Regions from separate parts of the Homo sapiens genome. Here all the other regions are linked to region 5. Evidence: promoter capture Hi-C in 16 types of primary human blood cells and fetal thymus (Javierre and others, 2016). All regions are on one chromosome and are shown on one strand. Each heading gives the region's core, a stretch centred on a gene start or on the middle of the fragment in contact. The rest is flanking DNA. Distances are from core to core; before and after follow the strand shown. Region 1 overlaps IMPDH1 (inosine monophosphate dehydrogenase 1). Region 2 has its middle 5.4 kb from the start of HILPDA. Region 3 has its middle 20 kb from the start of TSPAN33. Region 4 overlaps AHCYL2 (adenosylhomocysteinase like 2). Region 5 holds the start of ATP6V1F (ATPase H+ transporting V1 subunit F). Region 6 overlaps SMO (smoothened, frizzled class receptor). Region 7 has its middle 21 kb from the start of HILPDA.

What was found. The method cuts DNA at HindIII sites, captures the fragments that hold promoters and counts their contacts. A CHiCAGO score of 5 or more calls a contact.
Region 1: a fragment that was not itself captured here is called in contact with the fragment with the promoter of ATP6V1F in region 5 in 1 of 17 cell types (naive B cells); the score reaches 5.3 in naive B cells.
Region 2: a fragment that was not itself captured here is called in contact with the fragment with the promoter of ATP6V1F in region 5 in 4 of 17 cell types (endothelial precursors, erythroblasts, fetal thymus and 1 more); the score reaches 7.8 in endothelial precursors.
Region 3: a fragment that was not itself captured here is called in contact with the fragment with the promoter of ATP6V1F in region 5 in 1 of 17 cell types (M0 macrophages); the score reaches 5.1 in M0 macrophages.
Region 4: a fragment that was not itself captured here is called in contact with the fragment with the promoter of ATP6V1F in region 5 in 1 of 17 cell types (naive B cells); the score reaches 5.1 in naive B cells.
Region 6: a contact is called between a fragment that was not itself captured here and the fragment with the promoter of ATP6V1F in region 5, in 1 of 17 cell types (naive B cells). The highest score is 5.4, in naive B cells.
Region 7: a fragment that was not itself captured here is called in contact with the fragment with the promoter of ATP6V1F in region 5 in 2 of 17 cell types (endothelial precursors and erythroblasts); the score reaches 8.2 in endothelial precursors.

The regions. Positions count from the first base shown.
Region 1 is chr7:128,401,079-128,404,450 of GRCh38, forward strand. It overlaps IMPDH1 (inosine monophosphate dehydrogenase 1), which reads right to left. Exons shown (of 17, transcript NM_000883.4): 5 at 2,628-2,676; 6 at 1-38. Among named protein-coding and RNA genes, the nearest start is that of IMPDH1, 7.2 kb to the right of the region's middle. RefSeq lists enhancers at 2,655-3,271, 3,272-3,372. The HindIII fragment of the contact is 5,465 bases long and covers 1-3,372 here.
Region 2 is chr7:128,459,496-128,463,047 of GRCh38, forward strand. It overlaps the pseudogene EFCAB3P1. Among named protein-coding and RNA genes, the nearest start is that of HILPDA, 5.4 kb to the left of the region's middle. RefSeq lists an enhancer at 1-174. The HindIII fragment of the contact is 1,529 bases long and covers 617-2,145 here.
Region 3 is chr7:129,122,537-129,126,093 of GRCh38, forward strand. No RefSeq gene overlaps it. Among named protein-coding and RNA genes, the nearest start is that of TSPAN33, 20 kb to the right of the region's middle. RefSeq lists an enhancer at 319-588. The HindIII fragment of the contact is 2,855 bases long and covers 292-3,146 here.
Region 4 is chr7:129,271,181-129,274,603 of GRCh38, forward strand. The region is part of intron 1 of AHCYL2 (adenosylhomocysteinase like 2); the gene reads left to right. Among named protein-coding and RNA genes, the nearest start is that of AHCYL2, 48 kb to the left of the region's middle. RefSeq lists an enhancer at 608-902. The HindIII fragment of the contact is 1,538 bases long and covers 1,235-2,772 here.
Region 5 is chr7:128,861,248-128,864,746 of GRCh38, forward strand. It overlaps ATP6V1F (ATPase H+ transporting V1 subunit F), which reads left to right and starts at 1,609. Exons shown (of 2, transcript NM_004231.4): 1 at 1,609-1,815. The coding sequence starts at 1,658. It overlaps FLNC-AS1 (FLNC antisense RNA 1), which reads right to left and starts at 1,379. Exons shown (of 4, transcript NR_149055.1): 1 at 1,278-1,379. RefSeq lists enhancers at 1,223-1,332, 1,413-1,902. The HindIII fragment of the contact is 9,717 bases long and covers 1,046-3,499 here.
Region 6 is chr7:129,210,481-129,214,258 of GRCh38, forward strand. SMO (smoothened, frizzled class receptor) reads left to right here. Exons shown (of 12, transcript NM_005631.5): 9 at 1-68; 10 at 485-633; 11 at 1,156-1,290; 12 at 1,544-3,065. The coding sequence ends at 1,971. Among named protein-coding and RNA genes, the nearest start is that of AHCYL2, 13 kb to the right of the region's middle. The HindIII fragment of the contact is 1,589 bases long and covers 1,304-2,892 here.
Region 7 is chr7:128,433,140-128,436,533 of GRCh38, forward strand. It overlaps the pseudogene RPL37P16. Among named protein-coding and RNA genes, the nearest start is that of HILPDA, 21 kb to the right of the region's middle. The HindIII fragment of the contact is 2,238 bases long and covers 148-2,385 here.

The DNA.
Region 1 (3,372 bases), core at 320-2,819, 460 kb before region 5:
TTCAGCGTGATCTTCCGGGTCAGGGCTGAGGTCAGGTCCTGAGGATGGAGGCACAGCCCACGTAAAGAGTTTATCACCCACTGGACACTCACTCACTGAGCTCCTACATGCACCGGCACCAGGACAGGCCCTGGGGACATGGCAGTGAACAAGGTGGATGAGTTCCCAGCTCATCTAATGGAGCTTATGTTCTACTTGGAAAGAAAAATGACAGACACAGGACATATGCTCAAGATGACTTCAGTCAGGATGAAGGCTGCAGAGAAAAACAAAAAGGCCAAGCGACCACTGGCAACAAGGTGACTGGGGAAAGCCTCTTTCCTGGGAGGTGACCAGTGGGAGCCGATTAAGTAGAAGTCAGAGGGGCTGTCACTCTCGGCTGAGGGACTGAGTGCAAACCCGCCTCAGGGTCCAGTTCTTTCGGAGGCACACTTAAGAAAGAAAAAGAAGGCCAGGGGAGTGGAGGGAAGGGAGAGGCAGGAGGAAGGCAGGGGCAGCATGCATGGCCGTGAAGACCACGGACAGAAGCTCAGATTTGATTCGGAGAGAAGCCACTGGAGGGTCTTGACAGAGAAATGATCTGATTTATGTTTCAAAAAGGTCACTCAGGCTCCAAGGTGGAGAATGGATTCTGGGTGACAAGGGCTGAGGTGGGGGTAGGCATGGAAAAGAGTCTTTTAGGCATCCAGGAAAGCAAGCAACGAATGGTCTGGAGCTCAGGAGAGTGGTCAGGATTGCAAGTATCCATTTAAAAGCCACCTGCCCATGGAGGAAAGGCCAGAGCACATACCCCTCTGAGGGTCAGGCCAACAGTAGTGGATCCCAGTCCCCAAGACATTTGTGCAGACTTTGCTATGTAATTTTTTTAGATTCAAAGTCCCTGAAACCCATCACTAACCCTAGTTCAGACCTCTGGCCCCATGATCTAGAAAACACCATCTTCTCTTTTGTCATGCCACAGAAGGGCCACAGCCTTCCTGACAGAAGCCACAGGACAAGGAGATCCTTGCCGGCCAGGCAGGGTTTTTTTTTTTTTCTCTCTCTGATGGAGCCTCATTCTGTCACCCAGGCTAGAGTACAGTAGTGCAATCCCGACTCACTGCAACCTCCGCCTCCCAGATTCAAGTGATTCTCCTGCCTCAGCCTCCCGAGTAGCTGGGATTACAGATGCCCGCCACAATGCCCAGCTAATTTTTGCATTTTTAGTAGAGATGGGGTTTCACCATGTTGGCCAGGCTGGTCTCAAACTCCTGACCTCAGGTGATCCTCCTGCCTCAGCCTCCCAAAATGCTGGGATTACAGGCATGAGCCACCACGCCCAGCTGGTAGGGGTCTTTTCAATCCCTCCCTTCCTAGCAGCCAGCCCAGGGTCTGACACAAAGCCACACTGGCCAGTAAACTTTGTTAAACTGAACAGCTGCACCAAGCAGGCTTCCTGGTTGTTGTCATAAGGGAAACAACCAGAATCATTCGAATTTCCCCCTGAAAATCTGTCTGGGTCAGCTCTGGCTAAACACCAGCTGGATGTGAACTTCCCTCACATGTAAGTGATCCAGGCACACTCAGGCCCTCTGGCCTTTCATGAGAATCAGACCAGAATAAATAGCAATAATAATAGCAACAGAAAAGAAATGTTTTTTTTTTAATGTATATGAATTCATCATTGAATCATGGCACTTTTTCTTGAAATGACTTACACCATCATCACTACCCATCTGGGCTTCTCTGAGTTTATCATATGTTAATTGTTCATTGATTCGGCTCACTGATGAGCCCCTCTGGGAAAGCAAGGCACTGCGTTTCCTTGTATTTATCCAAAATGTAACTCTTTTAAACCCTCTTGCCAGTTCTTGTACATTGTGGATCAGTGAACAAGTCTGTCTACCGGTTTCAAATCTCCATAATTTCACTGGCTTCTATCATGTCCTTGTTCAGCATTCCAGACAAAATCCAATCCTTATGGTCTCTACAATAAGGCAGCCACTCCCAAGCCCACCGTTCCCACTCCCAAGCCCACCCCTTCCCAGGCCTCTTCTGAACCTGCCCACAGGCTCTGTCACTGACAGAGAGCCACCCAGCCCTGGGCCAGGCCTCACTCAGGACACTCCTGTGTTCCCATAGCTGCCTCTGCCCCATCAGGTATAACCCTTTGATCTCTGCCTGTTTCTCTGGCAACAATAAAGGCTATATCCACCCATACCAGCTGGGTGGAATCACCCCTGTAATCACAGCGTCTTCGGAGGCTGAGGCGGACGGATCACTTGAGCTCAGGAGTTTGAGACCAGCCTGGCCAACATGGTGAAACCCCGTCTCCACTAAAAACACAAAAATTATCGGGGGGTTTTGGCATGTGCCTGTAATCCCAGTTACTCAGGAGGCTGAGGCAGGAGAATCACTTGAATCTGGGAGGTGGAGGCTGCAGTGAGCTGAGATCACACCACTGCACTCCAGCCTGTGTGACAGAGCAAGACTCTGTCTCCAAAAAAAAAAAAAAAAAGGACTATATCCTATCCACCCATTCCCAAGAAAAGTCTCTCCATCTCTCCATGCCCTGCCCCTGAGCAAGAAGTCAGCCTCTTCCACCACATACACAGCCCCCTCCCCTTGTCAAAGGAAGAGGTACTCACCACCTCATCAGCTATGAAGTCTATGAATCCTGGGAGAATCAGGAAGTCGCTGTGAAGACAGAGAAGTGAGTGTTATTAGTGGGGAGGGGTGCCCCAAAGGGGCAGAGCCTGCCATGCCAGAGGAGGCAGCAGGGGGGTACAGAAAAGCCTAGAGGAGCAGAGGCTACAGCCCCCCATCCCTACTGCCCCATCAGGGCAGTTCCCACCTCGTGCACCTCACTAGAGTCTGGCAAACTCCAGCCCCCAGAGCTAGAGCCAAAGACAGCGAAAGGTCTACTGGGGTACCATCAAGGTAATAGGCCCAAAATATCCATTGCCTTTAAGTCTCAGAGTTTGTCAAGCGACACAGAAGTTCCCATATCGCCACACACAGCAGACACAGTGCCTGCCTTTGAAAACTTCTCAATCTTGATGGGGAGAGAAAATAAGTAAACATTGGGAACAAACCTGAGAACAATTTTGTGGCGCTCAACACAGTATGAACATGACCCAGCACAGGACAGTCCGCATGCCCCGGTGCCTGGGCTGCTGAGTCACACAGGGCTCGGAACAGCATGGAGGGACCCCAGGGGGCTGAGTGCAGGGCATGTTCTGACAGAGCAGAACAGAAATGGCCAGGACGGGAAAGGGGAGGAAAGAGGCCTTAGAGGTGGGACCAGGACACTGGGTCCCCAGCCAAAGCATGGCAGCTACCAACACTAGGGTGGGCCACGGTCACAGCAAACTCCGCAAGGGAAGTGCAGGC
Region 2 (3,552 bases), core at 131-2,630, 400 kb before region 5:
CCCCCTTGTGGTTGGATGGAGCCATGTCATTAGTTCTGGCCAATGAGCTGTGAGTGGTAGTGGCTTGCGTTAATTCTACGTGAGAGCATTTCAGTGCTGGAGAAACCTGCGAGGACCTCTTTTTCCCTCTGTGCAGTGACCAGCAGTGCTTCCTATGGAACTGTTCATTAGTGTAGGTCCTGGAATGAGGATGCATGGCGCAGGGCCCTTAATCTGTCCAATCTGACTGTGATGTGGGAGAGACTTCTAGACATGTTGCTTTCTCTAGGGTATGTTCTTATATTTCCCATTACCCCCCACCCCCTGCAAAAGGACTGGGCCTGTTTTGGGAAGGTGACTGATACCCGCACTGTAGCACAGGAATTGTGCTACTGATATCTGGGGGTTTTGTTAACTGAAGTGTAACTTAGCTTATCCTGATTGGTACATTGTGTACAGCACCTATTGGATGCCAGGCATCAGCTAATACCTCATCGCTACCTGCCTCAGATGTACACAAGGTATTGGGAGGAAGGCATGTGAACAAATAATGTGTCATGGTTTTGTGATAGAAATACGTATACAGGATAGTGGGTATATAAAGTTATTTGTAGGCAGGAGAGGGGTGTTCAGGAAAAGCTTCTTAGAGGATCTCAATTTTTTAAAAATGCGTAGGTTGTAGGCTGCTGGCCAACTTAGGAAAAGGTGTCTCAGCGGAGGGAACAACGGGAGCAAAGGCATGGAGATGAGCCTATGCACAGCTCATTTAGAAAACTGCAAGTTCAGGCCAGGTGCAGTGCCTCACGCCTGTAATCCCAGCACTTTGGGAGGCCGACGCGGGTGCATCACCTGAGGTCAGGAGTTTGTGACCAGCCTGGCCAACATGGGGAAACTCCATCTCTATTAAAAATACAAAAAATAGCTGGGCGTGGTGGCAGGTGCCTGTAATACCAGCTATTCAGCAGGCTGAGGCAAGAGAATCACTTGAACCTGGGGGTCGGAGGTTGCAGTGAGCCAAGATGCGCCATTGCACTCCAGCCTGGGCAACAAAAGTGAAACTCCATCTCAAAAAAAAGAGAACTGCAAGTACAGGCCAGGCACAGTGGCTCGTACCTGTAACCCCAGCACTTTGGGAGGCTTAGGCAGGAGGATTGCTTGAGCCTAGGAGTTCAAGACCAGCCTGGGGAACAGAGCAAGACCCCGTCTTTATTTAAAAAAAATTATTTAAAAAAATTTTTTTTTCCATTCAGGGTCTCATTTTGTTACCCAGACTGGAGTGCAGTGGTGGCATTGTGGTTCACTGCAACCTCCACCTCCCGGGCTCAAGCAATTCTCCTGTCTCAGCCTCCCCAGTAACTGGGACTACAGGTGCACACCACCATGCCCAGCTAATTTTTGTATTTTTTGTAGAGATGGAGTTTTACCATGTTGCCCAGACTGTCCTCGAACCCCTTGGACTCAAGTGATCCACCCGTCTCAGCCTTCCAAAGTGCTGGGATTACAGGTGTGAGCCACCGCACCCGGCCCACTACTCCCCCAACATTTTTTTAAGCGTTAGCTGGGCATAGTGGCGCACACCTTTAGTCCTAGCTACCAAAGGGGTTGAAGTGGGAGGATCACTTGAGCCCAGGAGTTTGAGGCTGCAGTGAGCCATGATCATGCCACTGTGCTGCAGCCTGGGTGACAGAACTAGACCCTGTCTCCTAAAAAATTAAGGCTGGGCACGGTGGCTCACACCTGTAATCCCAGCACTTTGGGAGGCCAAGGCAGGTAGATCATTTGAGATCAGGAGTTCGAGACCAGTCTGACCAATATGGTGAAACCCTGTCTCTACTAAAAATACAAAAATTAGCTGGGCATGGTGGCAAGCATCTGTAGTCCCAGCTACTGGGGAGGCTGAGACAGGAAAATTGCTTGAACCTGGGAGGCAGAGGTTGCAGTGAGCTGAGATAGTGCCACTGCATTCCAGCCTGGGTGACAGAGTGAGACTCCATCTCAAAATAAATAAATAAAAATAAATAATTTTTCAAAGTGCAAGTACAAATTTTAAATCTTACTAGCTTGTGGCCTGAACTCTAGTGCCACCTAGTGGACCCTAAAGAAGGGAATATTTTATATACTGTATGCTGTGTAATGCTTTCTGAATTTGAATGACACTACCTCTGAAGCTTAAGATAACTATGAGAATATTAAGGGCTGGAAGATAAGATCTAGCCCAGCACTGTCCAATAAAAACATAATGCAAACTACATATATAATTTAAAATTTTCTAGTGTCCCATTAAGGAGTAAAAAGAAACTGAAGATATTTTTAACATATTTAACGCAATGTATTCAAGATATCATTCCAAAATATAACATAAAGTGTTATTAATGAGATATGTTAAATACTTTTTTTGTGATACTAAGTTTGTATACTGGTGGGCATTTTATACTTAAAATATGTCTCTACTTGGATTTGCCACACATTTTCTTTAGTTTTTGTTGGTGGTGCTTTTTTTTTTTTTTTTTTTTTGAGAGTTTTGCTCTGTCGCCCATGCTGGAGTGCAGTGGCACAATCTCGGCTCACTGCAACCTCTGCCTCTGGGTTCAAGCAATTCTTGTGCATCAGCCTCCTGAGTAGCTGGGATTACAGGCACCCACCACCATGCTGGGCTAATTTTTTTTTTTTTTTGGTAGAGATGGGGTTTCACCATGTTGGCCAGGCTGGTCTCAAACTCCTGACCTCCAGTGATCTGCCCACCTTGGTGTCTGTGCTGGGATCCTTTTCTGTTAACTTGCTTATAAAAATGTCACACTCTGTATTAAGACATAAGGAGTTAGAAAATCACTGTAAAAATAAAGTTGCTTGTTGTACAGGTACTAACAAGCATTTTCTGAAATGGAAATTTGTTTTTTTATTAACCTAATACAAATAAGGTTCAAGCACTGTATTTAAATATTTAAAAGATAGGAGTTTCTTAAAATACCACATATGGTGCTCTTGTGAGCTTGCTTTTCTCCACAATTTGGCAATTTGCTTCACTCTAGTAGTCCAATCTGCAACAAAAGAACAGAATATAACACTTTCTCAGAGCCATGCTAATGATGTGTTGTATTAAAGAATGTTGATGAACTGCTGACAGTTAATCTTATTCAGGCCGTATTCTCATGAGGTCATAGATCTATATTAAGTTTTTTTACAAAGAACAAAGATCCTGGCACACTGTAGGCCAAACAAACGTTTTCTAAATGAAGTGTTGCCTTATTAACAACCTAGCTTGTAGGTTGGGAAGTTTTTAGATTCAAGGGACAAAGTAGCAAAAATGTGCCCTCTCCCTCACCCTCACCTTCTCCCTCTCCCTCTCTCTCTCCCGTCTCCGTCGTCTCTGTCTCCTGCTTTCCACGGTCTCCCCCTCTCCCTCGTCTCCGTCTCCCGCTTTCCACGGTCTCCCTCTGTTGCCGAGGCTGGACTGTACTGCTGCGATCTCGGCTCACTGCAACCTCCCTGCCTGATTCTCCTGCCTCAGCCTGCTGAGTGCCTGGGATTGCAGGCGCGCGCCACCACGCCTGACTGGTTTTTGTATTTTTTGGT
Region 3 (3,557 bases), core at 469-2,968, 260 kb after region 5:
ACATGAAAAAACTCTGCTGGATTTGAGTTAAAAAAAAAAAAAAAAGAATCTGAAGAAAAAAATAGCAAATCTGGTATCCTAATGAGATAATGAATGCACAAGTACTTTGAAAGAGGTACAGCACTTCAGTGCTTTTCAGATATGAGGTTTTGTCATGCTCTTGAAAGAAATGCATAGGCTTTACTGACATGGGGGCTGGGGCTGGGGCTGGGGCCCTGGCAGAAATGGGGAAGCACAGGCTGTGGCAAGGGGGGTTTCTCCAGAAGGCTGACTCATTTCTTGGCTGTCCCAAGCTTAGAGAGCCAGATTTCTTAGGGTTGTTTACCACCTTAGTAAGGAACTGGTGGAGGGTTTTTTTCTGGAGTTAAGCACTGCAGGAAGAGCTGCCCACAGTATGGGGGTGGGTCATCTGCTTCTGGACTGCCCAGGCCAACTGTGGTTACCCCAGTTAACTGTGGTGAACTGTCCACATAACCAGCCTTCTGGATCTGCCTTTCAAGGAGTCCCACTGTGCTTCTCCCTGCTGAGGCCGCTGAAAGGGCATAGGCAATTGCTAGAGGTGAAGAAAAACTCTGTAGCTAAGCTATAAAAACAGGCATCCTGAATCTGGCTACATCCTGGTAATCTTGCACATAGGATGAATCCTAAGAAAAGGTGAGTCTTGTTAATGTGCACAGCACACAAGCCAGCGGGATGGCGTGCCAGTCAGCAGATTTTCAGTTTCAAGATAACTGAAAATCCATTTTTATCTGACTTAGACAAAATGAAACAAAACACCAAACCAACAAACAACAACCACACAATTTCACTGATTCGCATAACTGAAAAGTCTAAGGTTAGGGCTTGTTTCAGGCACCACTGATCTTGTGGCTCAAACTATGTCACTGGGACTTGGTTTAACCCTGTCTCAGCTCTACCTTTCCTCAGTGTTACCTTCTCTCTCAGGAGCCCTGGGGTAGCCCCCAGTGGCTGCAGGTCATCTGTAATCCCAGGGGGTCCCAGCAAAAGAGAGAGGGAATCCCTTTCAGTAATGGTCCTCCTCCCCAACTAAATTAGAGGCTTCATTCTGACTGGACCAAGTTAGAGCGCATAACCATCCCTGGGCTCTGATTGGCCAGAACAGAGTCCGGCGTTCCACCTGCCAGGTGGAAGGGTAGATCTCTCCCATGCTCACTGAGCCTGAGACAGGAGGTGGGGTGGCATCCCAAAGGAAATCTAGCATGCTGGTACCAGAACGGGGAATAGGTGCTGGGCTTGGAAAAATAACAGACAAACACTCAGTGCTACCCATTTAAGCATTTGAAATAATTTCACTTCAAAATCAGAGTGGTCGAGTCTCAGACACATGAGATTCTGTCTCAGATTTCTGGTGGCTTGAATGGAGGGTGTACAGAATCATGTCTTGATAAATGTTTAACTTCTAAGATTTGAAGTGCAGATATTGGTCTGGGTATCCCTCCTAGAAATCTTTGCATTTTCTGCATTTTCTTTTTAATATTTTATTTTTATTTTTATTTTTATTTTTTTGAGACAGTGTCTCAGTCACCCAGGCTGGAGTGCAGTAGTGCGATCTTGGCTCACTGCAACCTCCGCCTCCCGGATTCAAGCGATTCTTGTGCTTCAGCATTCGGAGTAGCTGGGACTACAGGTGTGAGCCACCACGGCTGGCTAGTTTTTGTATTTTTAGTAGAGACAGGGTTTTGCCATGTTGCCCAGGCTGGTCTCGAACTCCTGGCCTCAAGTGATCCTCCTGCCTCAGTCTCCCAAAGTGCTGGGATTACAGGCGTGAGCCACTCACTGCACCTAGCCTATATTTGAATTTTAAATAGTGATTCCACACCTTAACCTAACCATAATGGGAATTGGATTAGAGAATGGTGGGAATTTCAGACAAGTTGGTGAGGGTGAGAAGTAAGGGAAGAGAAACGTTATGGAACCTCTCACATAAAAAGTGCACAGTGGCCTACCCCTATATGGATGTGAGACTGCTCCTGATAGGAAATATCCCCAAACCCCTTGTTTGCAGTCCACGGCCCCAGTCTCAACTCCACCAAATCATGATGCTTCCCCTGAGATCATGATTGCGTTGCCCAGTTTCCTCTCTGACCAGACCTGATTCTACAGACAAAAGCCAACCTCCTCACTTCGATTCCCCTGGATCCTTTCCTCCTCTTCACATCTACAGCCGCTCTTCTAACTTCTTACTCCCGTTGCAATTCCAGATATTCCAGAGACAGGATATCTCCAAGGCACTCCAGGGCCCCAAATAACAAACCTTATTTGTTTTCCACCTCACACAATCTGAACTCTTCTGCCTGCCCTTTGAAACCCTTCGCGAACACCTCCAACCTTATTTCTTGCTCCTCCTCAATACAGCCTGTTCTGGTTGGCACAGCCTCACCTCTTACCTTTGCCACGATGCTACTCCTGCTGCGTCACTCAGTTCTGCATGGTGAGTCTCCTCCATCCACTGTGATCTGGAACCACGTCATTGTCAGTGGAGGTTGAATACAACTGGAATTTTTTATGGGATTCTAACAGACCTGTCCCTGATAATGGCGTGCCCCTAATTTCCGTTCTTTACTGACTACTCATTGGCTGTATCACTCTAGTTGCACAAATGATCTCTATCTCCCTCTATGCATGCCTACTAGGTCCAGGGAAGTAATATAGTGTTTGTAACTAGGAGTGGTAAAGATGATGGCTAATTGGAGAGAGTAAGCTCAAGCTAAAAGCATTCAAATTCAATTTTTTTTTTTTTTTTGAGACAAGGTCTAGCTCTCTTGCCCAGGCTGGAGTACAGTGGCATGATCACAGCTCGCTGCAGCTTCAAACTCCTGGACTCAAATGATCCTCCCACCTCAGCCTCCGGAGTAGCTGGGACTGCAGGTGCTCACCACTATGCCCAGCTAATTTTTTTTAAAAAAAAAATTGTGGAGACAGAGGTCTTTCTATGTTGTTCAGGCTGGTCTTGAACTCCTGGGCTCAAGTGATTCTCCCATCTTGGCCTCCCAAAATGCTGGGATTACAGACATGAGCCACCGTGCCCAGCTCAAATTCAAAAATTTTAAGACATTATGGGACAAAGAAAATTCACCTGTCCATCCAAATAATGTAATGTGCAATAAATCTGCAACCACTGCTTAAGCTTGTCTTGAAGTTTTTCTGTTTTGCAGGACTCTTCCTGAGCAGTACATTTTCTTCTCTTCTAACAGAGTTAGAATTTATTGCTTACAACTCTTTCAGAAAATGGCAGTAATTAGAAATGGAGTCTGAGGAGGGGGATTTGCTCAAAATACGAGTATCGTTTCTTTACCATTTTTCTTTAGCAATGTATTCTGTAATCATAAATGAGCTACATGAAGATCTGAGCACAGCCTGGAAATATTGCATGTTTAATATCAGCCTCCTTTCCCTTCTTCAGAATTAAACTCTGGATCCTTCCTAGACTTGGCCAGTTCCAAGTCACGACTTCGTCAGATACACTCTTGCTGTAAGAAGCAGTAAAGTTCAGTGGTTATGATCACAGACCTAGAGCTGGTCTATCTGGGTTTAAA
Region 4 (3,423 bases), core at 754-3,253, 410 kb after region 5:
GAAATCCCGTTTCTACTAAAAATACAAAAAATTAGCTGGGCGTGGTGGCAGGCGCCTGTAGTCCCAGCTATTCGGGAGGCTAAGGCAGAAGAATGGCGTGAACCCGAGAGGTGGAGCTTGCAGTGAGCCGAGATGGTGCCACTGCAATCCAGCCTGGGCAACAGAACGAGACTGTCTCCAAAAAAAAAAAAAAAAAAAAGAGTTTTAAAATAGACCTTCAAAAAATATAGTCACTGAAACTTAAAATTTGGTGGACAATATCAATGGTAGAATGGATACATTATGGTATATTCATAGAACAGAATACTATTAAGCAATGGAAATGAATAAATTGCTGCTATGCATAAGATCATGGCTGAATAACAATAATGTTGAAGGAAGGAAGCCAGATGTAAAATAATATATACTATGTTATTTTATTTATATAAAGCTAAAAACCCGGGTGCGGGTAACATTGGATTTTTGTCCTGGGTGATAGTTACATGGCTGTTTCACTCTGTTATAATTCATTGAATTTATAATTTGTATACTTCCTCCATTTAATAGAAAGCAGATAAGGAAAATGTAATAAATGTCATAGAAAAGATAGGATAAATAGAAAGCATAATAAAAGATGGTAGAGATAAATCCAAATGCATCAGTAATCATACTGAACATAAATGAATTACACTTATTGAAACAAAGACAGATTGTTGTAGCATGTTTTCAAGATGGCTGATGTTAGTTCCTTCCCTCCACATGTGCACCACCCCCATCTAGTGGTGGAGTTTATTCCTCTGTTCATACCAAATCTGGGCTGGCCTTAGTGACTTGTTTGGTGAAATGTGGCAGAGATAACATTCTGGGACTTTCAAGGCCAGGTCATGAAAAGTTTTGCAGCTTCCATCTAGGCCTATTTGAACATTCTCTTTTGGATTGCTGTGCTATGGAACATTTAGTCTTGGAACCTAGCTGCCATGCTGTGAGGAGTCCAAGCCAGATGGAGAGGCTCAGCTGAGCTCCTAGCCAACAGCTAGCATCACTTTTCAGCTACGTGAGTTCCAGTTCCAGTGGGCATCATATGGAGAAAAGCCCAGGCCCTAGGCGTATGGCTCCCAGTCTAGTTATCCTCAATCAATGGAGCCACCTTACCTGAGGCCCCAGATGTTATAGAGCAGACACGAGCTGTTCCTGCTATACTCTGTCTGAATCAGAATTGTGAGTATAATAAAATGGTTGTAGTTTTATGCCACTAAGCTTTAGGGTAGTTTGTAGTGATAGATAACTGAAACCAAATTTGGTACCTTGAAATAAGGTGCTGCCAAAACCTACAATTTGCATTGGCTTTGGAATTTGGTGAGGGTTAAAGATGGAGGGACCTTGAGAAGACAGTGAAGGCTTGAAACACAGAGAGAAAAGTGTTATTGGAGGCTGGGAAAAGAGTGAACCTTTGTTATATAGTGATTCAAGGTTTATTGGTACTGCCACATGTGGTTACATAGACCATAGAAAATGTATCTAATGACTTCAGTGTATCTAAGGAGATTTCTAGGCAGAATGTTGAAAAAATGTTACCTAGTTTTTTCTAAGTATGATAAGGTACAAATTGATAAATGAACTAAAAAATGAACTACTAAGTTTTAAAACAGAACTTAGAGGAAATATTTCTAACCCAGGAATGGTTGTGTTATTATAGAAAATAAAACTTTTTCTCATCTCTAGTTGCTTCAAATGGCCAATGACTTTTATTTTATTATTATTATTATTATTTTGAGATAGTTTTTCTGTCACTTAGGCTGGAGTGCAGTGGTGCTCACTGCAACCTCTGCCTCCCGGGATCAAGTGATTCTCCTGCCTCAACCTCCTGAGTAGCTGGGATTACAGGTGCCCGCCATGATGCCCAGCTGTTTTTTTGTATTTTTGGTAGAGACAGGGTTTCACCATATCAGCCAGGCTGGTCTCAAACTCCTGAGCTCAAGTGATCCATCCGCCTTAGCCTCCCAAAGTGCTGGGATTATAGGCATGAGCCACTGCGCCTAGCCTGACCAATGACTTCTAAATAAATGGCTTCAGAGGAAAGATAAAATTCAAGATGCTACCAATAAAATATGGCCTCAAAGTAAAGATCTCAGTGATGCAACTGTAAATCCCTTTGCTAAGACTTTTTTTTTTTTTTTTTTTTTTTTGAGACGGAGTTTCGCTCTTGTTGCCCAGGCTGGAGTGCAATGGCATGATCTTGGCTCACCGCAACCTCTGCCTCCCTGGTTCAAGCAATTCTCCTGCCTCAACCTCCCTAGTATCTGGGATTACAGGCATGCATCACCACGCCTGGCTAATTTTGTATTTTTAGTAGAGACGAGGTTTCTCCATGATGGTCAGGCTCGTCTCGAACTCCCGACCTCAGGTGATCCGCCCACCTCGGCCTCCCAAAGTGCTGGGATTATAGGCATGAGCCACTGCGCCTGGCCGACTTCAGAAAGATTTAAGACAATGCCTCACAAAACCTTTCAATTAGATAAAGGGATATCTAGAGGTCTTAAGGGAATACTTCTTAGGCTTACTATGTTAAACAATAGGGCTTCTAGGGATCTTAAGTGTGTTTTCTCACAGTAGCCTCACATAAGACTTGCGATAGAAAAGGTGGATGTGGCTTTTGTCTGCTGGAGTGAATCCCAATAAGATTCATAGGAAATCCACAAGATTTTAAAGAAATCATAATAATAAAAGAGGAACAGAGACAGTAGAAAGTGAAAATAGGCCTTTAGATTTCCAATCATCTATAGGCAGGAAACAAGCTTATAAGGCCACTCCATTGCAAAAATTAACCCATCTCTTATGTAAAAAGAAGGTTAATTCAGAAACTTAGAGGGTGGAGCCAAGGGTTGTGGAGAGTCATTCTCAAGGTGTAGGACTTGGCTGTAATAGAGGAACTGGTGATATGTGTCTGATTAGATTTCAGAATTGTTATGGGCCAGTAACTGTTATGTGTCTCCTGTTCCTTCTCCCTTTTTCCTCACATTTTGAATGAGAGTGTCTATTGTGCTTATCTTAAGTCAGTCTCACTATTGTATGTTTGTATGTTGGGTGTGTGGGAGCAGATAATTTGTTTCTTTAATTCAGATCAGGAGGAACTATACTGCAGTAGCTGTACCTGAGGAACTGCATCTGAGGAGCCTCAACCACATCTGGACCTGATTTAGATATCGAGATTCTGGACATCAAGCTGATGCCATAATGAAATGAGACTTTTGAAGGTCTTAGAAGAGGGTGAGTGTATTTTGCATGTGGGAGGGCCTTGTTGGGGCCAGAGGGTGGTCTGTGGTAGCTTGTATCCAAAGTGGCCGCCACCAATTTCTTCCCTTCTTGCTATTCAGTGGTGGAGTCTATTTCCCTTGTCCCCTTGAATCTGGGCTGGCTTTAGTGACTTGCTTAACCAATAGACTG
Region 5 (3,499 bases), core at 359-2,858:
GTGAGTGACAGCTCTAAAACGTAAGTTTGGCGATAGCACTCTCTTACTTGAAATCCCTCAGCAGCTTCAGGATAACTGTCCTCAGGATAACTTCCAGATCTTTTTTTTTTTTTTTTTTTTTTTTTAGACAGAGTCTCACTCTGTCACCTAGGCTGGAGTGCAGTGGCGCCATCTCAGCTCACTGCAACCTCCCTTGCCCGGGTTCAAGCAATTGTCCTGCCTCAGCCTCCCGAGTAGCTGGGACTACAGGCACACACCACCTCACTGGGCTAATTTTTTTTGTATTTTTAGTGGAGATGGGATTTCACCATGTTGGCCAGACTGGTCTCAAACTCCTGACTTCAGGTGATCTACCCGCCTCAGCCTCCCAAAGTGCTGGGATTACAGGCGTGAGCCACCGCGCCCAGCCTGCAGATCCTTTTTTTTTTTTTTTAGACAGGGTCTCGCTCTGCTGCTCAGGTTTAAGTGCAGTGCCGTGATCATAGCTCACTGTAACCTTGAACTCCTGAGTAAGCCCTGCTGCCTCAGCTTCTCGAGTACCTGGAACTATAAGTGTGCACCACCACGCCTGGCTAATTTTTTTTTTTTTTTTTTTTTTTTTTTTTTGAGACAGAGTCTCGCTCTGTCACCCAGGCTGGAGTGCAATGGCACAATCTCGGCTCACTGCAACCTCCGCTTCCCGGGTTGAAGCAATTCTCCTGCCTCAGCCTCTCGAGTAGCTGGGACTACAGGCGCCCACAACCACGCCCGGCTAATTTTTTGTGTTTTTAGTAGAGACGGGTTTTCGCCATGTTGGCCAGGCTGGTCTCAAACTCCTGACCTCAGGTGATCCACCTGCCTCAGCCTCCCAAAGTGCTGGGATTACAGGTGTGGCGTGAGCCACCATGCCTGGCCTTACCAATTATTTAACTTTCCTTGAAGGCCCTACGCTCTCTAGTCAGTACGCCTTTGCACATGCTGTTCCTCTGCCTAGAACACCGTCTTGTCCTCACTTCTATCCCCTTCATCCTGCAGGTCCTTCAGGTCTCAGCTTAGATCTGAAGCAAGCTTCTTGGGGAAGGGTTCTTTGGACGCCCCCTCTCTCCATGGGTTAGTTACCATGGATGTGTGCTTCCATATACTTTTCACATTCTAACCATTAACACACAGCTTTGTAGTCGCCTGTTCCCTTGACTTTCCACCTCACTAGGCAGTATCATCATTAACTTTTGCATTCCTTTAACTGAACAAACGTGTGTTACTTGTTAACTATGTGTCATAGTTACACACATACATACACGATAAAGACCCAGACCCTGCCCTTGAGATGAGTAACTGCGTCTCTTCTCTGGGGTCTCGGCGTCTAACAGCGTCAGGTCCAAAGCGCTTGTTGAACGAATGAACCAAGGAACGAGTGAATGAACGAATGAATGCCCGCGAAGGACGTGGTGCCGCGCGGTCTTCTGGGAATCGTAGTCCCCTGGTTCGGGCCTGTCTTTACGGCGCAGGCGTATTCACATGGAGGCCGTGTTGCTGTTAATGCGCATGTCCCGGAATGCGGCTGGGAGGACTGCGCATGCTCGAAGGGTGGGGGTTGAGGCCGACGGGGCGCCGTACGGCGGAGGCGGGGTTTCAGTGGCTTCTGGTGCTCTAGGGTGAGCTCTGCCCGGCTGCAGGGATGGCGGGGAGGGGTAAGCTCATCGCAGTGATCGGAGACGAGGACACGGTGACTGGTTTCCTGCTGGGCGGCATAGGGGAGCTTAACAAGAACCGCCATCCCAATTTCCTGGTGGTGGAGAAGGATACAACCATCAATGAGATCGAAGACACTTTCCGGTACGGTACCGCGCGAGGCCTGAACGGGCCCTTCTGCTGCTCGGTGGAGTGCGGGGCGAGGCTGGAGGCTGCCCGGACGGGGGTGAGGGGACGATCCTGAAAGTCCTTCCGCCCTTCCGGAGCGGAGGCCTCCGCGCCCCAAGTCCCCGTTTGGGGCTCGGTGGGACAGAAGCTGTATCAGGTCCACGAGCCCCCCCACCTCACATGATCGTGTGTCATGAAAGAAGGGGAACAGAGCTCGTGACAGCCTAGACAGTGGGCTTGGACTTTGTTCTGCTTTCTCCTCCTTTAGAGGCTCACCATCGTCCCGTAAGGCAGGGATGATTTTTGTCCTACTCACAGGTGAGAAAACTAAAGCTCGGAGAGGGTAAGGCACACACTAAAGTTACGAGTCGGCAGAGGCAGAGCTAGAATTTGAACCCAATCTCAACCCTTTCTGCCTCCGGTAAGCCAGGTACACACTCTTGGCAGGTCTCCTCAGGCGGCCTCGGAATTTCCTTGTAGTCTTGAGCACAGTAGGCAGAAATGTCGGGACTGTGAGAGCCTTCTGCTAAGACCTTGCACTCAAGCCCTCACTGCCTGCCTTAGGTCAGAGTGTGGGTGCAGGCATGCTTTTAATCCACCAGGGGTCCTGGTGACTGGAATTAAGGATACCAGCCTCCTATTTTATTCCTCACCCCTTCTCCAGGGCCCCTGTACCAAGTCTCAGGAATAAACCACTCACCTGTTTCCCCCAAACAGTCCAGCCCAGGGCTGCTGGCTGAGACTGGTTCCTGCTGCCTGGTGTATTAGGTAGTCCCTGACCTGGGAGGCTGTTATCTGCCATTCTCTAAGCTGTCTGGTAAAGTGACCCAAGTTATCATGGGAGAAGGACAAATTTTACTTCAAGAATTTTTTATGTTTCCAACCAAAAGGGACCTCAGAGATCAAATCTAACCCAGTGACTGGCAGGGGGTGGGTGCTCAGTAAGTAATTTTTAATCAGTAAATAAACGAATGAGTCTGGGTGCAGTGGCTCACGCCTGTAATCCCAACAGTTTTGGAGGCCGAGGCGGGTGGATCACCTGAGCTCGGGAGTTTGAGACTAGCCTGACCAATATGGTGAAACCCCATTTCTACTAAAAATACAAAAATTAGCCAGGCGTGGTGGCGGGTGCCTGTAATCCCAAGAAATCAGGAGGCTGAGGAAGGAGAATTGTTTGAACCTGGGAGGTGGAGACTGCAGTGAGCCGAGATCCACCACTGCACTCCAGCCTGGGTGACAGAGGGAGACCCTGTCTCAAAAAAATAAAAATAAAATAAACAAATGAATGGGTGGGTGACCACAGGAGAGAAGGAGCACAAGGCCAGGTTCTTTTTGTGCAGAAAGTGTGATTCCTTCATCAAGGTGTCCTCTTCCTAGCTTGTGATCTTAGTTCATGCCAAACTTTCCCTCTGACCCCTCCACCACCCTCATCAGGATAGACCTTGAGGCCTTCAGTGGTCTCATCAGCCCTATTTTTAAATAATTTGTTTTCTTTTTAAAAGTTAATGTGTCTTTTTTTTTTTTTTTTTCTGAGACAGGGTCTCACTCCTGTCACCCAGGCTGGATTGCAGTGGCGTGATCGCAGCTCACTGCGGCCTCGACTTCCCAGGCTCAAGTGATTCTCCCACCTCAGCTTCCTAAATAGCTAGGACTACAGCTT
Region 6 (3,778 bases), core at 848-3,347, 350 kb after region 5:
GGCATCGCCATGAGCACCTGGGTCTGGACCAAGGCCACGCTGCTCATCTGGAGGCGTACCTGGTGCAGGTGGGCATGGCAGCCAGCCCCTCCTGCCCTGCCCGCCTCACCCTCAGCCTTGGGACCCCATCTTTAGGTTTTGTCGGGTCCTGCCTCTAGCACAGCCTTGGTCAGTGGTTCACCGCTGCCCCCTGGTGGCACCTTCTGTCCTTGGGTGGCCTGATGCCTGGGCCTGGGCCTGGGCCAAGGGCAGAGCCAGCTGCCATCACCTTTTAAGAGCGGAGTGATTGGAGGGCTGGGCACACAGGAGCTCTGCATTCTGGCCCCACTTCTTTGCAGAGAAGGCCTCTACTCCTGAGTCCTTGAAGGACTTGAGGCCCTTGGGAGCCTCCTTCTCTGGAAAGAATGGCATCGCTGGCCCTTCCCAAGATTTGATGGGAAGTGGCAGCTTCTTCACGCTCCTTCCCTATCCCTTCTGCTCTCAGGTTGACTGGGCAGAGTGACGATGAGCCAAAGCGGATCAAGAAGAGCAAGATGATTGCCAAGGCCTTCTCTAAGCGGCACGAGCTCCTGCAGAACCCAGGCCAGGAGCTGTCCTTCAGCATGCACACTGTGTCCCACGACGGGCCCGTGGGTGAGCCTCACCCCTCCTCTACCGGAGCCGCCTGGCCCCGCGCTGCCCATGTGCTAGTCTCTCCCAGCCTGCTGGGGGCACACAGATTATTTGGAAGACCGACTGTGAGGAGCAAGGCGCTCCCTCCATCGCTCACACACCCATTCTTCCCCCGGCCCCTCCTACCCTCTGGGGGGCTCTCCCCTCTCTGTTTCTGCCCCTGGGTCTGCTTGCCGGTGCTTGGGTTCCAAGAAGACTCCCCTCCCTCTCCCTTCTCATAAATTCTCCAGTTGCTCTCCCTGGGCAAGAGTAAGTCAGGGTTCCAAGAACTGGATTTCTGGCCTCCAGTTAGGCCCTTTGGGGACGTGAGGCCCTTCTCTTCAGATTCTGAAGGGGTAGAGATCACCGTGGTTACAGGGTGAGCTTTCTCTGGTGAGCAGGAGGGACTGGCTGTGGGAAGATGAATGGCACTGACTATGGGAGGCACTGCCAGGGACCGGGAAGTCACTATTCCTTCTCCTTTCCTTCCTTCCATTCCCACAGCGGGCTTGGCCTTTGACCTCAATGAGCCCTCAGCTGATGTCTCCTCTGCCTGGGCCCAGCATGTCACCAAGATGGTGGCTCGGAGAGGAGCCATACTGCCCCAGGATATTTCTGTCACCCCTGTGGCAACTCCAGGTATGAGAGTTCAAGCTTCTGGAGGAAGGTGGGGGGAGCACAGAGGCTGGGGGCTTCTGGGACTGGAGTACAGGGGCTGTCGGAGGAGGAGGAAGAGGAAGGAAAGGCCCCAGAGGATCTGAAGAGTGGGGCTGAGGCTCTAAGAGTCTAGAGACCTGGGCCCCAGAACTAACAGGTTAAGTGCTCCCAGGGGAGCGGGGGTGGCATGGACAGAGCCAGGGCCCCAGGCTCGTGTTGTCTCTCCTCCTGTCAGTGCCCCCAGAGGAACAAGCCAACCTGTGGCTGGTTGAGGCAGAGATCTCCCCAGAGCTGCAGAAGCGCCTGGGCCGGAAGAAGAAGAGGAGGAAGAGGAAGAAGGAGGTGTGCCCGCTGGCGCCGCCCCCTGAGCTTCACCCCCCTGCCCCTGCCCCCAGTACCATTCCTCGACTGCCTCAGCTGCCCCGGCAGAAATGCCTGGTGGCTGCAGGTGCCTGGGGAGCTGGGGACTCTTGCCGACAGGGAGCGTGGACCCTGGTCTCCAACCCATTCTGCCCAGAGCCCAGTCCCCCTCAGGATCCATTTCTGCCCAGTGCACCGGCCCCCGTGGCATGGGCTCATGGCCGCCGACAGGGCCTGGGGCCTATTCACTCCCGCACCAACCTGATGGACACAGAACTCATGGATGCAGACTCGGACTTCTGAGCCTGCAGAGCAGGACCTGGGACAGGAAAGAGAGGAACCAATACCTTCAAGGCTCTTCTTCCTCACCGAGCATGCTTCCCTAGGATCCCGTCTTCCAGAGAACCTGTGGGCTGACTGCCCTCCGAAGAGAGTTCTGGATGTCTGGCTCAAAGCAGCAGGACTGTGGGAAAGAGCCTAACATCTCCATGGGGAGGCCTCACCCCAGGGACAGGGCCCTGGAGCTCAGGGTCCTTGTTTCTGCCCTGCCAGCTGCAGCCTGGTTGGCAGCATCTGCTCCATCGGGGCAGGGGGTATGCAGAGCTTGTGGTGGGGCAGGAACGGTGGAGGCAGAGGTGACAGTTCCCAGAGTGGGCTTTGGTGGCCAGGGAGGCAGCCTAGCCTATGTCTGGCAGATGAGGGCTGGCTGCCGTTTTCTGGGCTGATGGGTGCCCTTTCCTGGCAGTCTCAGTCCAAAAGTGTTGACTGTGTCATTAGTCCTTTGTCTAAGTAGGGCCAGGGCACCGTATTCCTCTCCCAGGTGTTTGTGGGGCTGGAAGGACCTGCTCCCACAGGGGCCATGTCCTCTCTTAATAGGTGGCACTACCCCAAACCCATCTTTTGTTCTCCTATATCCTCCTTCTTCTGTTCCATTTCAGTTCAGTTTCAGCGGTGCCAACCTCTTTGCGTTTCCTTTTTGTTGATGAGGACCCAGAGCTGCTGCACACACTCACCTCTAACCCCCTCCCCTCGCTGCTGGGCCCCATCTCCACAGGAGAGACTGGTTCAGCTCTAGGGCCTCAGTCTGGAGTGGGATAGGAGCAGTGAGTGACAAAGCCTCTGAAAGATGCATCATCTCTTCCTCACACCCATTTAGTGGGGGATGGGTCCTCTAGACTTGAGGGGCTACCCTGGGAAGCTGCCGTAGCTTCAGCCAGGCAAGAAAGCTTCCTTCAACCTGCATAGCCGGTGGGTGAGGAGATTCCCACCTTCCATAGCCTCCAAACATGTTCCCAAGGCCCCACTTTCAAGAATCAGACAGCAGGAAGCCATAGATGCTGGCTGGGTTCCAGGTTATGGGGAGAAGAAATACAGTCAATAAAAGGTTTTTGTATAAACTCTTGGTGTGTTTTTCCTTTTTTTTTTCTTTTTCTTTCTCTCTCTTTTTTTTTTTTTTAATTGAGATAAAAGTCTCACTCTATCCCCCAGGCTGGAGTGCAGTGACATGATATTGGCTCACTGCAACCTCCGTCTCCTGGGTTCAAGCAATTCTGCCTCAGCCTCCTGAGTAGCTGGGATTACAGGTGCCTGCCACCACACCCAGCTAATTTTTGTATTTTTAGTAAAGAGGGGGTTTCACCATGTTGGCCAGGCTGGTCTCGAACTCCTGACCTCAAGTGATCCACCCGCCTCGGGCTCCAAAGGGCTGGGATTACAGGCGTGAGCCACCGCGCCCAGCTAGTGCGTTCTTTCTTCTATGGGCTCCGATCCTGGCCTCCTTACCTTGTCTTGGTCCCAATCTTTTTGGTCTTCCCCATCTTCCCGAGGGTGCTCTGAAAGGCCAAGAGCTTTGTGCTAATGTGGCCACGGCTGACAGTCAGATGTCAGGCTGATGGCGCCCTCATGTGCTGGCTGTCCACCTGAGCCAGTCGGCTCTATATGAACAAAAGCTCTTCTGTGACCACGGCTGCCTCGCGGAGCAGTGATCACAAGATAATTGAGCACAGGCATGCAGCTTCCCCTGGGGTGATGGTGTCTGCCTGATGGGAGTGGAGATGGGCAGGACTCCTCGAGGCATTCCTGGACCTCATCTCTGGGGGCCTCTTTCTTC
Region 7 (3,394 bases), core at 17-2,516, 430 kb before region 5:
TTGCCCAGGCTGGTCTCAAACTCCTAGGCTCAAGCAATCTGCCCACCTCGGCCTCCCAAAGTGCTGGAATTACAGGCGTAATATTAATGTTTTTACAAATTTATTCTCCAACTCTGGGTTGGGGATTGTCACATCAACAGAGAGGGAAGCTTACTGCAGAAAATTAGGGAGTCGTTTTGTGACACAATGACTCAGTTATGCATTCAACTTTCGGTCAGCAAATATTTATTTATTTATTTTTTAAAACTAGAACATTTGTCACATGACTAGTCACTGAAATTCTTAAGATGAACTGGATGCTGCAACGGCTACCCTCTTGGGTTTAGGTGTGTTCCTTTTCGGAATCTGTGCCTCAGTCTGTGGCAAACAATTTTTAGGTGTCTCATTCAACAAGTTCTGGTGGTATTTCGCCATTTAGCCTTGGCACCCAGTTATATTTCCTCTTGTGTTTGGCAGGGTAGCCACATTTGCCACAGGTCGTCTTCTGGAGGTGGTGGGCCTTAGAGCCACAGTGGTGGCACAATGTGTGTGTCTTACTGTGATGCTTTCCAAACGATGAGATTCCCTTCATCATCTCACTTCTGCAGCTGAGACCAAACAGACTGGAAGATAAGGCACTTCCACTACATCTGGTCAGCAAATATTTATTGAACACTTACTATGCGTCAGACACCATGTTCCTCATGGCTTCCCCTAAAGCTCCATGTAGGAAAATTAAGCATGAGGGTAACTGATTGAAGGGTCTCAGAAAAACAAACCTTTGTGGCTAACATCCCTCCTCCTGGCCACCTGCAAGATTTAGCACTGATTACCCATCTTCAAACCCCTTGTATTAATCTGTTCTCACACCACTATAAAGAACAGCTGGAGACTGGGTAATTTATAAAGAGGTTTAATTGACTCACAGTTCCTCATGGCTGTGGAGGCCTCAGGAAACTTACAATCATGGTGGAAGGGGAAGCAAACACATCCTTCTTCACCTGGTGGCAGCAAGAAGTGTGGGAGAAGCCCCTAAGAAAACCATCAGTTCTCATGAGAACTCACTCACTATTTTGAGAACAGCAGCATGGGGGTAACTGCCCCATGATTCAATTACCTCCCACCAGGTCCCTCTGAGGACACATGGGGATTATGGGAACTACAATTCAAGATGAGATTTGGGTGGGGACACAGCCAACCCATATAATCCCTCTTAAAAATAATGCATTCTATCTAGGCTGCTGTAGCGGTTCACACCTGTAATCCCAGTGCTTTGGGAGGCTGAGGTGGAAGGAACACTTGAGGCTAGGAGTTTGAGACCAGCCTGTGCAACCAAGCAAGACCCTGTCTCTACAAACAAAAAAATTTAATTAGCTGGGCACAGTGGTACGTACCTGTAGTTCCAGCTACTGGGAGTGGGGCAGGGTGCTGACTCAGGAGGATCACTTGAGCCCAGGAGGTTGAAGGTGCAAGCTATGATTGCACCACTGCACTCCAGCCTGGGCAACAGAGAGATACCCTGTCTCTAAAAGTAAGTAAGTAAATACATAAAATAAATAAATAAAGCTGGGTGTGGTGACTCACACATTTAATCCCAACACTTTGGGAGGCCAAGGCAAGAGGATCACTTGAACTTGGAAGTTCAAGACCAGACTGGGTAACACTGAGACCCTGTCTCTATAAATAAAAAAATAAAAAAATTAAAATTAAAAAATACAACTAGTGCATTCTGATTGGGTCAAGGTTCTAATTTACCCAGAGAGGTCATACATCAATTATCTAATAGCATAGGAATTCCATTATCTGATTAACTCATCTTCTGTCTACAGCCATACCACCCTGAATGCCTGATCTTGTCTGATTAACTCATCTTCTGGAGCACATGGATCCATAATGGGCTCCAGTGGGGCTGAGAACACTAGAAATTATCTGCGTTTGTATCTGTACTATTTCCCCCTGGATTCAATTTCAGGCAGTATAGGAACTAGATAATCAGACAGTATTCCCACCTAAAGCATGACAAACATTCCTTTAAATGCATAGCAGAGCTTGAGGGTGGAGGAGGAAGGGAAAGCTACAGGGACAACAAACAAACAAACAAAGCAAAGAAATGAGAACCCTGAAGCTGTGGCTGGATTTGGGTGGGCGGGGACGGGGAGGGGGCTGTTCAGTAATGTTAATAACCAAAGCCTGGCATAAAGCTGGGGCCCATCAACAAAAGGGGGAGAAAGGGAAAATGTATCTGCTTCAGCCATAATTCTGGACCTGAAAAAACATTTCCACTGAGAATTTGCAATCCTGGGCTTCAGGCGTATTTGCAAACAGAATGCATACTGTGCCTGGTATGGGCAAACACAAGATCAAACATGAACAAACATTAGCGGTGGATTGTTAGTTCCTTGAAGAAGCTTTGCGCAAAGCTTCTCTGGAGGAGCTGCAGTTAACCCAGGCTATGTATGATTCCCACACAAAAAGTTTGGACAAGTAAAGCTCAAATGCAAAAAATAAATCACACAGAAACAAGCCTACATGAGCAAATGCCAGCATACCCAAGAAACAGCTGCATAATATCCTTTCCATTTTCCTATAACAGAATTATTAGGTATGAAGTAAAAAATAAGAATTTAAAAAATGTTTACAGAAAAATAAAAATAAACTGAAAACATGACAAAGGAGCCATATGCTATCAAAACAGATGAGATTTGAAAAAAATAAATCAATAGAACATCTAAAACTGAAAGCCACGATAATCAAAATTAAAAACTCAATGGGCAAGTTAAACAACAGATTAGATAGGACAGAAGACAGAATTAGTGAATTAAAAAAAATACAGAAACAAAAATAGGCCAAACCCCCTCCCCTACAAGATATAAAAAGTTATATAGAATGAAGCAGAGAGGGCCAAAAACTTGGAAAATATGAAGGAAATATTAAGAGACATGAAGACCAGACTGAGTAAGATGAACATGCATCCAATTGAAGTACTGTAAGAAGAAAACAGAATAGAGAGAGGCAATATTCTAAGAGATAGTGGCTGGAATTGTCCAGAAGCAATGAATGACATAAAACCCTCACCTTCTATCATCAAGGAAGCTAGATGACAAAGGAATATTTTTAAATGTATAACAGTAAATAACAAGTCGGGCATGGGAGCTCACACCTGTAATCCCAGCACTTTGGGAGGCTGAAGCAGGCAGCTTGTTTGAGCCCAGGAGTTTGAGACCAGCCTAGGCAACATGGTGAAACCCCTTGTCTACCAAAAAAAAAAAAAAAAATTAGCCAGGCATGGTGGAGCATGCCTGTAGTCCCAGCTACCTGGCAGGCTGAGGTGGGAGGATTGCTTGAGCCTGGGAGGCAGAGGTTGCAGTGAGCTGAGATCACATAACTACAATTCAGCCTGGTTAACAGAGCAAAA